Regions from separate parts of the Homo sapiens genome. Here regions 1, 2 and 4 are each linked to region 3. Evidence: promoter capture Hi-C in 16 types of primary human blood cells and fetal thymus (Javierre and others, 2016). All regions are on one chromosome and are shown on one strand. Each heading gives the region's core, a stretch centred on a gene start or on the middle of the fragment in contact. The rest is flanking DNA. Distances are from core to core; before and after follow the strand shown.

Evidence for each region. Contacts are between HindIII fragments. The CHiCAGO score rates a contact against its expected background, and 5 or more counts as called.
Region 1: a contact is called between a fragment that was not itself captured here and the fragment with the promoter of OSGEP in region 3, in 1 of 17 cell types (M0 macrophages). The highest score is 5.6, in M0 macrophages.
Region 2: a fragment that was not itself captured here is called in contact with the fragment with the promoter of OSGEP in region 3 in 1 of 17 cell types (total B cells); the score reaches 5.1 in total B cells.
Region 4: a contact is called between a fragment that was not itself captured here and the fragment with the promoter of OSGEP in region 3, in 1 of 17 cell types (fetal thymus). The highest score is 5.3, in fetal thymus.

Annotation. Positions count from the first base shown.
Region 1 is chr14:20,821,327-20,824,026 of GRCh38, forward strand. No RefSeq gene overlaps it. Among named protein-coding and RNA genes, the nearest start is that of RNASE1, 20 kb to the left of the region's middle. RefSeq lists an enhancer at 404-698. The HindIII fragment of the contact is 1,018 bases long and covers 942-1,959 here.
Region 2 is chr14:20,871,719-20,874,418 of GRCh38, forward strand. It overlaps LOC100507513 (a long non-coding RNA gene), which reads right to left. Exons shown (of 4, transcript XR_110261.4): 3 at 1,841-2,700. Among named protein-coding and RNA genes, the nearest start is that of RNASE3, 18 kb to the right of the region's middle. RefSeq lists enhancers at 2,074-2,173, 2,284-2,333. The HindIII fragment of the contact is 1,516 bases long and covers 552-2,067 here.
Region 3 is chr14:20,453,438-20,456,137 of GRCh38, forward strand. It overlaps OSGEP (O-sialoglycoprotein endopeptidase), which reads right to left and starts at 1,375. Exons shown (of 11, transcript NM_017807.4): 1 at 1,132-1,375. The coding sequence starts at 1,246. It overlaps APEX1 (apurinic/apyrimidinic endodeoxyribonuclease 1), which reads left to right and starts at 1,789. Exons shown (of 5, transcript NM_001641.4): 1 at 1,789-1,957; 2 at 2,141-2,266; 3 at 2,477-2,664. The coding sequence starts at 2,209. RefSeq lists a silencer at 1-25, promoters at 1,288-1,732, 1,362-1,899, 1,564-1,898, enhancers at 1,323-1,412, 1,833-2,052 and cis regulatory regions at 1,359-1,689, 1,620-1,775, 1,646-1,687, 1,684-1,689, 1,700-1,732 and 2 more. The HindIII fragment of the contact is 3,687 bases long and covers 1-1,894 here.
Region 4 is chr14:20,951,613-20,954,312 of GRCh38, forward strand. No RefSeq gene overlaps it. Among named protein-coding and RNA genes, the nearest start is that of RNASE2, 2.5 kb to the right of the region's middle. The HindIII fragment of the contact is 7,527 bases long and covers 1-2,700 here.

The DNA.
Region 1 (2,700 bases), core at 201-2,700, 370 kb after region 3:
ATTCCACAGCATTTCACACTTTATTATACCATGTCTCACATTCAGTGGGAATTCTTTCTTCTCAGTCTCCCAAATTACACTGTTTTCAAGAACAGAAAGGGTGTTTTATTCACACATATCTCCTGATCATGTGCCATGTATACAGTTGGTCTCCAATTAATACATGTCAAGTAAATTAATGTCTCATTGTAGAAGGCTACGGAGTCACAGAAGATTAACTGACTAGAAACAAAGAAAATACTATACAAAAAATATTAGACATGGTGCAGAATCAAAAGGTGGTTGTGGAAGAAATGGAATGTGTTTTTCATGAAGGAGGAATGTAACTACCCAGTGGTTTCACCTTGCCCACAGCCTAGACAGAGCCAGTTTATCAAGACAGGGGAATTGCAATGGAGGAAGAGTAATTCACACAGAGCCGGCTGTGTGGGAGACCGGAGTTTTATTATTACTCAAATCAGTCTCCCCAAGCATTCAGGGAAGCAGAGTTTTTACTGACAACTTGGTGGGTGGGGGGAAGCCAGTGAGCCAGGAGTGCTGACTGGTCAGTTAGGAAACAAGACCATAGGGAACTGAAGCTGTCCTCTTGCACTGAGTCAGTTCCTGGGTGGGGGACACAAGATCAGATGAGCCAGTTTATCAATCTGGGTGGTGCCAGCTGATCCATCAAGTGCAGGGTCAGCAAAATATCTCAAGCACTGATCTTAGGAGGAGTTTAGGGAGGGTCAGAATCTTGTAGCCTCCAGCTGCATGACTCCTAAACCATAATTTCTAATATTGTGGCTAATGTTAGTCCTACAAAGTGAATCTAGTCCCCAGGCAAGAAGGAGGTCTGCTTTAGGAAAGGGTTGTTATTGTCTTTGTTTTAAACTACAAACCATAAAGCAAGTTTCTCCCAAAGTTAGTTCAGCCTACCCCGGGAATGAACAAGGACAGCTTAAAGCTTAAAAGCAAGATAGAGTTAGTTAGGTTAGATCTGTTTCACTGTCTCGGTCATAATTTTGCAAAGGTGGTTTCAGAAAGGTGTCATGATGTGTACAATATCATCTGAAAAAGAATAAATGAGAAGCCTAGCTCTCCAATAAAAAGGCAACAATTAATGACTGCTACTGTAGAAAGGTGAATTTTCAAAAACAGAGAAGTGGTGTAATAAATATAGCTCAGGTAATATAAAAGGTCAGGGAAAAAAAGTGTGTTTTTTCCCCAGCTCTGCTACTTATAACTTGATGAGACTTTTCGATAAATCTTTTTGGAAGCTCTTAAAAACTACCAATGCCAGCCAGGTACAGTGGCTTACGTGTGTAATCCCGGCACTTTGGGAGGCCAAGGCGGGCAGAACACTTGAGGTCAGGAGTTTGAGACCAGCCTGGCCAACATGGTGAAACCCCTAGTTATAAATAAAGTTTTGGTGCCACAAAAGAAATAGCACTCGAATATAAAATGTTCTTTTTAATTCTCAGCAAGGCAATGTACTTCTATAGAAGGGTGCACCCTTACAGATGGAGCAATGGTGAGCACACACTTGGACAAGGGAGGGAAAGGGGTTCTTATCCCTGACGCATGTGGCCCCTGCTGCTGTGTCGTTCCTCTATTGGCTAGGGTTAGAACGCACAGGCTAAACTAATTCCGACTGGCTAATTTAAAGAGAGTGACAGGGTGAGTGGTTTGGTGGGGAAAATGGTTATGGCAGAGGAAGTAATCGGAATGAGTCAGGGTGGAGCAGGTAATTGGAATGAGTCAGGGTGGAGCAGGTAATCGAAAAAGGTTGCTTTACGAGGAAGTTAAAAGTAGAAGGCAAAGAATTGAACATACGAACATACTGACATACTGATTCTTTGAAGAGAAATTTAGAACTCATATCTAACAACCCCTCCTCTTATATTTCCTTACAGTTTTTTCTCTTCAAAATTCTTTAACATGTCTCGGCTTAGTTGTTTTGCTTGATTTTCCAAAGGAAGAAGCTTCTCTGGATAAGGTGGAGGATAGTTAAGGGAGGTTTTAGTGAGTGCCATTTTTATGAGCCTCTGCACCAACCCATGGATGCATGGTGTGACACAGCACCCGACAAGAATAAGTACACCCATTACGGCTGTGAGGGAAGTAAGAATTGAGGCTATTATCCTTTTCCATTTACTGAACCACTTTTCTAGCCCTCCTATAAAGGGGTCATTTACCCCTGAGTTGTTGGCTAACTCATTGGACACAGCAGTCAGACCTTGCAATGCCTTTGTTGTACTTCCATCAGGGGCGGTGTTGTTTGGGATGAAGGTACAACATTGAGTTTTAATCATGATGCAAATTCCTCTTCATTCTGCTAATATGTCTAAGGCTATCCTATTTTCCCAAGCCATCTGGCTAGTAGCCTCTAATTGCTCAGCTATTCCTTTAACAGCAACTCTAGTGTAGTTAATAAATTGCTGTTGGTTGTAGTAGATGTAGTTTATCCAATCTACATTTTTATTAATTGTCCCCCACCAAAATATTGACTCAAATCCTGCAGCTCTTTGATTTCAGGTTTTAAATTGATCTGGTATTCCCCATGGGATTCCAATTGCATTTAAATAGATGTGAGTCGAAAGACCCGTAAGTGGCTTCTCTTGCTTTACAATGTCTTATTTTTCCTTCCTCCGATTGATGAAATGCCAGGGTGAAAAGGATAGCCAATTGTACTAAAGCACAAGTGCCACTCCAGTTATTTGG
Region 2 (2,700 bases), core at 60-2,559, 420 kb after region 3:
CTGGCCAGGCACGGTGGCTCACACCTGTAATCCCAGCACTTTGGGAGGCTGAGGAGGGCAGATCACCTGAGGTAAGGAATTCAAGACCAGCCTGGCCAACATGGTGAAACCCTGTCTCTACTAAAAATACAAAAATTAGCTGGGTGTGGTGGCGCATGCCTGTAATCCCAGCTACTCAGGAGGCTGAGGAAGGAGAGTTGCTTGAACCCAGGAACCGAAGGTTGCAGTGAACCGAGATTGTGCCACTGCACTCCAGCCTGGGTGACTGAGTGAGACTCAATCTCAAAAAAAAAGACGGACCCATTCTAAAAAAGTTTCTACATGAGTTTATAAGTACTCGCTTCTGCATGTCTGAAAAAATCTCTGTCTAATAAGAGAGACACACCTCAAAAGTTTTATCAATAAAAAAGGTACAAAAAAGTCAGAATAAAAATAGGACATAAAATCAATGCTATAAATATTAAACAGATTATGAATAACTTTGTGCTAATATATTTGGGAACTTTAGACGAAATGGATAAATTCCTACGTGGGAAAAAACAATCTACCAAAGCTTTCTCAAGAAGAAATGGAAAAGTTAGCATCTCTTTAACCATTAAGGAAATTGAAACAGAAGTTTAAAATAGTTTGAGGCTAAGCCTGGTGGTGTGTACCTGTAGACCCAGCTACTCTGGAGGCTGAGGCAGCAGGATTATTCGAGATCAGGAGTTCAAGCCCAGGAGTTTGAGGCACCTGAGACCGAGTGTTCAAGGATCAGTTGAGACCAGTAATTCGAGGTATGCTCTGTGATTGCACCTGTGAATAGCCACTGCACACTAGCCTGGGCAACATAGGAAGACCCATCTCCAAAAAAAAAAAAAAAGGAAAAGAAAAAAGAAAAAGCAGTCTCAAAGAAAATAAGAAAATATCAGGACCAAACAGCCTTACATGTGAGTTCTACCAAGTATTAAAATAACATATAATTCCAGTTACAAAATAAAGAAGGACTACTCCCCAATTCATTTCTGGAAGCTAACATATAACCTAGATACCAAAATTAAACAAGGCAATACAAAAAATTACAGACCAATCTCATTCGTGAACATAAATGCAAAAAAAATTTAACAAAATATTAGCAAATTAAATTTAGTCATATATAAAAAAGATTATATCACATAACCAAAATGGGTTTATCCCAGGAATACAAGGTTGGTTTAGTATTCTAAAATCAACTAATCTAATTCACCCCATTAACTGATTAAAGAAATATGCTGTATAATCCCATCATTCAACGAAATTCCCAATCCATTCAAGAGACATAAACAGGAGCAGAAGGGAAGAAACTTTTCTAATCTAAAAATGGGCATCTACAAAAGATCCACAGCAACAACCAGACCTACCAAAATGGCCCCTTAAAGATTTCTTGAAGGCACTTTTATAGCGAGCATTAGGCTAAGTGCTGAATGTCAAGAACAAAGGCAAAACAGCTATACCTCCTGGCATCGGGGGAAGGAATGAAAGTAATAGTATCCAGTTTTGTCACTGGATTATTCCAAAAGGGTAAAATCCTCACGCAACTCTGTTCCACAGGCACCGGGCTAGTCAGTTAATGGACGGCTGCCCTAGAGTCAAGTGCCCTCCTTTGCTTCAAAACCTTGTCACCATTCTGCTGGAGTCACAGGGTAGAGAATATGAACACCTTTGGATGCTTCCTCTCGTGGATAAAATAACCTCCTTCAGAAGGGGATCGGTGATGTAATGGATTCCATGAAAGAAATAAACTCTTCTCCAGCGCAGCTGAACTGTAAAGCTCATAACACAAGTAGGTCCTCAGTGCATATTCACTTCCTTTCCTTCTTACCTGAGGTGCTGCAGTGTGAATCTGAAGGTGGCAGGTTCAACGTTAAAGTGCTGCAGTGTATGAAAGTTATGGTAGACTCAGAAATCTGTTCTTCAACAGTTAGACTGTATTTATGCTGGCTGGATTTTGTTTATTCACCTATTATCGTCTACCCGTGTCAGCAACCAAGAAACCTGCAGCCTGTCTCAAAGGAAACCAAGAAAGAAGTTTTGGACTCTTGTGCAGGAAGCTTGTGGCGCGGCGCCCCCTGCCGACCAATACGACGGCCACGGGAACTGGGAGACCACGAAGGCTCTGGGCCTGCGGAGTTGCCCAAGCTCCTCCGGCTTCTCCGGAAACGGCTTTTTCCGGTGACACCCCTGGAGCCACAGTGATTTGTTTCCCTAAAGGAAGCGGTTTCCCGCCAGGGTATCGTCCCTAATACCCTCCGAAGGAGCCCATTGAGGAGAAAGGCATAGAATGTCCCGCAGAAGGCAGAAGGACCCTATGATCCAGGAAACCTAGGGCCAGCCATCAGGAGGTTTTATGAGAGCAGCTGGTGGGAAGATCAGCCCCAGGAGAAGGGGATTGTCTAGCAGCTTGGTTGGAGCAAGTCTTTTCCCGAGTATTATTTCCGTAATTCAGGCTCCCTCCCACCAACCCTCCACTGCAGCCTTATCCTCCACCAAAAGCCCTGACACTGTGGCAGGGGTAGGGCACATGGGGTTGGTGGGGAACAGGCTGTAAGAAAGACGCAGGAGCCTGCGTGCAAAGGACGAAGCATTTACAAAGAAGACCTTGACAGTGCTGCACAGATTTGAAGGCGTAGGGTGCAAGTCATTCAGGTGCCGTTGTCAGGAGGAACCTAGCCATCCAGGTGA
Region 3 (2,700 bases), core at 125-2,624:
CTCACTGCAACCTCTGTCTCCCGGGTTCACGCAATTCTCCTGCCTCAGCCTCCCAAGTAGCTGGGTTTACAGGCATGCGCCACCACGCCCAGTTAATTTTTTGTATTTTTTAGTGGAAACATGGTTTCTCCATGTTGGTCAGGCTGGTCTCGAACCCCGACCTCAGGTGATCTGCCTGCCTTGGCCTCCCAAAGTGCTGGGATTACAGGCGTGAGCCACCACGCCCAGCCGTGTTTGGTACTTTCATCTAATCTTCAAGACCTAATGATACAGGTATTATTCCCATTTTAAAAACAAAGACCAGGCCCGAGCGGTGGCTCATGCCTGTAATTTCCACACTTTGGGAGGCTGGGGTGGGCGGATCATCTGAGGTCAGGAGTTCGAGACCAGCTTGGCCTGGTGGAAACCCCGACTCTACTAAAAATACAAAATTTAGCTGGATGTGGTGGCGCACACCTATAGTCCTAGCTACTTGGGAGGCTGGGGTAGAAGAATCGCTTGAACCTGGAAGGCAGAGATTGCAGTGAGCCGAGATCGTGCCACTGCATTCCAGCCTGGGCGACAGAGCAAGACTCTGTCTCAAAAAAATAAAATAAAATAAAAAATAAAGACCAAATGTCCAAAACAAAAATATTTAATATGAATATAGCAAAGCCAGCCAGTTCTGTCTGACATGTAAGCCGGGAGTCTTTCCACTCTCATCTCTCTACTCATCCTAGAATATTTCAAAAAATAATTTTTTTTTAAAAAGGGAGTGTATATTCAGGGCAACTGGAATCTATACTCCTGCTAAGCGTTTTTTAAACAGAATATTTCGAGTCCATCTCTATTATACTGTTTATCATGCTGTAGTATAAACATCTATTTATATGTCTGACTCCACAGCAGTATAACATCTATTTCTGAATACTTAGCACATAAAATGCGCTCAGTAAAAGGTAAATGAACTCATCAGATCCACGTCCAAGTGCCTGTAACTCTTCTAGTCATCAGCCTTGTGACGTTAATAATGTCACATAATTTCAATGAGACTCGGATCGAAAGCTGCACCTCACTAGTATTTAGGAAGATGGAAGGCTGATTCTGTGCGGGGAAGTGCGCGGAAAACTCTTAAGTCCCCTACTCACCAACCTGTGCCAGGAGGCGTGACGTAAGTCCGCCGCGGGTTCGCCAGCACCTTGCCATCCCGCACCACGCCCACGCCAATCTTATTGGCGCTGCCTTCAAAACCCAGCACCGCCGGCATGGCGGAGGCTGGGAGAAAACGCCGACAGGACTCCTGGCAATGTCAGGAGCTGTGGAGGTCCTCACTAGTCCGCGCTGGGCCGCAGCTTTCCGGAGCGCAGAGGAAGCTGGCCAGCCTGCAGATAGCACTGGGAAAGACACCGCGGAACTCCCGCGAGCGGAGACCCGCCAAGGCCCCTCCAGGGACCTGTCTTCCTAACTGCCAGGGACGCCGAGCCAACTCTGTGCCTTACATTCGTATCCGTTTTCCTATCTCTTTCCCGTGGTCCAGCCCAGCCTTCTCCACTGTTTTTTTCCCTCTTGCACATAGTTAGAATCTTAAGTCAGTGTCACACAATGTGCTGTGCATCTGGCACAACGATAAACAGCCCGAGGGAGGGTTGGGGACCTAAGTGTCCTAGAGAATTAGAGGAGGGAGGCGAGGCTAAGCGTCTCCGTCACGTGGTGTCAGACAGACCAATCACGCGCATTCTTCGGCCACGACAAGCGCGCCTCTGATCACGTGACCAGGTCCGCTACCCACGTGGGGGCTCAGCGTGCACCCTTCTTTGTGCTCGGGTTAGGAGGAGCTAGGCTGCCATCGGGCCGGTGCAGATACGGGGTTGCTCTTTTGCTCATAAGAGGGGCTTCGCTGGCAGTCTGAACGGCAAGCTTGAGTCAGGACCCTTAATTAAGATCCTCAATTGGCTGGAGGGCAGATCTCGCGAGTAGGGTACAAGGCACTATGAAATGATCTAGTTTCGTGGGTGAGGGGCTGAAGGGCCTATGATGCACGGAGGCGGGGAAAGGATTTAGAGATAACGTGGTTTGAAAGGCGGGACCTGGTGCGGGGACGCTCTTGGGAGGAGTCTTCTCCCCAGCCTTAGCTGGTTTCATGATTTCTTTGCGTCTGTAGGCAACGCGGTAAAAATATTGCTTCGGTGGGTGACGCGGTACAGCTGCCCAAGGGCGTTCGTAACGGGAATGCCGAAGCGTGGGAAAAAGGGAGCGGTGGCGGAAGACGGGGATGAGCTCAGGACAGGTAAGGGAATGAAATCAGCCCTTCTTCCTAGAAGCTGCGGCGGGGGTGTTTGTCATTCCCTTGATGTACGGTAAGTACGGGCCGACTCATTTTTGCAGGGGTTTGTGAAGAAGTCGCAGGAACCGTAGGCTTTCGTTGGGTCTATAGTTAACGCCGGATCGCAGTTGGAAACCACCAGCTTTTTGTCAGTATATATTACTCATTTTATAGAGCCAGAGGCCAAGAAGAGTAAGACGGCCGCAAAGAAAAATGACAAAGAGGCAGCAGGAGAGGGCCCAGCCCTGTATGAGGACCCCCCAGATCAGAAAACCTCACCCAGTGGCAAACCTGCCACACTCAAGATCTGCTCTTGGAATGTGGATGGGCTTCGAGCCTGGATTAAGAAGAAAGGATTAGATGTGAGTGGAATTTGAGGGAAAGAGACATTTTTTAGT
Region 4 (2,700 bases), core at 41-2,540, 500 kb after region 3:
CAGGAGTTCAAGACCAGCTTGGCCAACGTGGTGAAACCCTATCTCTACAAACATAGAAAAATTAGCTGGACGTGGTGGTGCACGCCTGTAATCCCAGCTACTCGGGAGGCTGAGAAAGGAGAATCATTTGAACCCGGTAGGCAGAGGTTGCAGTGAGCTGAGATCTTGCCACTGCACTACAGCGTGGGTGACAGAGTGAGACTCCATCTGAAAGAGAAAGAAAGAAAGAAGGAAAGAATGAAAGAAAGAAAGAAAGAAAGAAAGAAAGAAAGAAAGGAAGGAAGGAAGGAAGGAAGGAAGGAAGGAAGGAAGAAAGAAAGAAAGAAAGAAAGAAAGAAAGAAAGAAAGAAAGAAAGAAAGAAAAAGAAAAAGAAAGAAAGAAAGATTTTAAAAATATGCAATGGGACACGAATGCAATTTTCCAGTTTCTTAGGAAACACACTTTATTTCATCCCTCCTAAGACACACCTCTCCATAATTCCATCGGGGCTCTATTCCCATTTCTTCCCTTTCCAGAGAAGTAAAGGACTTGTTATAGTTGAGGAAAAAGGAGAAGGCTTACTTCTTTCCTCTTTCATGCCAGAAACTTAATCGAAGGGGTCAGATCTACTTATTCAATGGCTTTCAGAGGAGACATGCAGGAGGCCCCACATAAGAGGGAAGGCCTAGGGCCACCTTTCTGAGGTTTAAGAGACCAGGAAGAGCTCAGTACACCAAATATCTTTAGAAATTAGGTAAGTAAAATATTACTCAATTTGGTGCAATTTAACCTGCACCATATTATTATGACAATCTTGTATTACTTTTAATGGCAAAAATTGCAATTACTTTGGCACCAACCTAATAAATAGTGTGCATTGTCTTTCCCATAGATAGCCACTGCTGCATTAGGGAAATCTGTGTGCAGGAAGGTATCTATGGTTTGGTACCTCCCTGTCAGCAGGTTAAGAGCAAATATTGCAAGGGTACCCTGGGGCTGAAGAAATTGCAAGTGTTAAACATTATATTTTTGCACATAAATGCTATGCAAAAAGTCATTGATCAATGCAGTGTACTCAACAGTGGTTTTTACCATAAATGGAGAAGTCTTTGTCTGGGACAATATTTTACAATGTTCATCGGTTTCCAAAAAATGACTTAATACTGGGGCATAATTCTGACTATTCCTCTGAGTGGAAGTGTGCATTGGGTCTGAAAATGTGTCGTTAAATTAGGCTGCAAGACAAGTTATGCTAATAAAGAACCCGGGAGAAGTGGCTTGTGTCTGTTCAAGACAAAATCATGCTGAAGTCACAGAGAATTTTGTTTACCGTTGGCTTATACTTTATTATTCCTGCTTCATATAAAACAGTCTTCTCCCAAAGCTCGTAAATATCAAAGTAGATCTTTTCTAAAGTTCTGCAGGCAAATGAAAGTAGTTGGAAATGTACACAGGAAATCTACACAAGGGAGAATCAGAAAAATCTTATGAGCATGTTCTCAATACAATTTTAGTGATCAGGAGTGGTGGCTCATGCCTATAATCCCAGCACTTTGGGAAGTCCAGGGGGGCGGATCACTTGAGGTCAGGAGTTTGAGACCAGCCTGGCCAACATGGTGAAACCCTGTCTCTACCAAAAGTACAAAATTTAGCCGGGCATTGTGAAGGGTGCCTGTAATCCCAGCTAATCGAGATGCTGAGGCAGGAGAACTCGGGAGGCAGAGGTTGCAATGACCCAAGATCGCGCCACTGCACTCCAGCCTGGGCAACAACAGCAAGACTCCATCTCAAAAAAAAAAAAAAAACCACAATTTTAAAGGATGAATATGGTTGCAAATTGGGCAGGTTATGTATGGTCTGAGTTATTTCTTAAGACACTGCAACAAGTCTGATGCGTCATAAGCACAGATGTCTCCAGAAGCCAGGCAGGTGTCATTACTGAACAGACAGGATGAAAGTCAGGAGGCAGAGATGGAGTCAGAGAACAGCCCCGAGCTAGAGCCCCTTCCACAGAGGCAGCTTTACCCAGCTCTAATTGATACCACACAGCAACGGAGACACAGTGCACCAACCAACATCATGTGATTTTTAAAGATAAGACAGTAATGAAAACTTTTAGTGAACTATTCCAATGTCAAACTTTACCTTCCAAACCAAACATTATAAATAGCACTGTATATGCTGAAAAGAGGCACTGTTTAGCCAGGTACCTGCCCTGGGGCTGCAGTCTATGTCTTTTGCCTCATACTATAGACACTTGAGTGCAAGTCTTTCTACCCAGTGTGTCTGTCAGCATCACAGAGCGGATACTCTACGTATCATTCACCTTTACATTCTCATCACCTGCAAAAATGATCTCCACACAATATACATGAAAAAAGAATTTGCTTCATGATAAAGCTGCTAATGAATGTCGGCCAGAAGAGGACTTCAAGGCAGAGCAATATTAGCTGCGCATTGAGTCCTCACTGGGTCACCATTGTGTCCACATTTACCTAAGGACCCCAGTGATAAAATTATTGCATTTCTAAATGACAGGAAAATTGGATGGTAGTAAAAATTATGTAGATTAACTGTTGGAAGGTATATTATATCATTTAAGGGTCTAATATCAATTTTCTAATCTGAAAGCTAGACCAGATTTAACATCTCTTAGTACTCAGGTCTTACCACTGCAATTCACTTCCCACCTCTGTACAATTTCCCCACATCATCCCCTG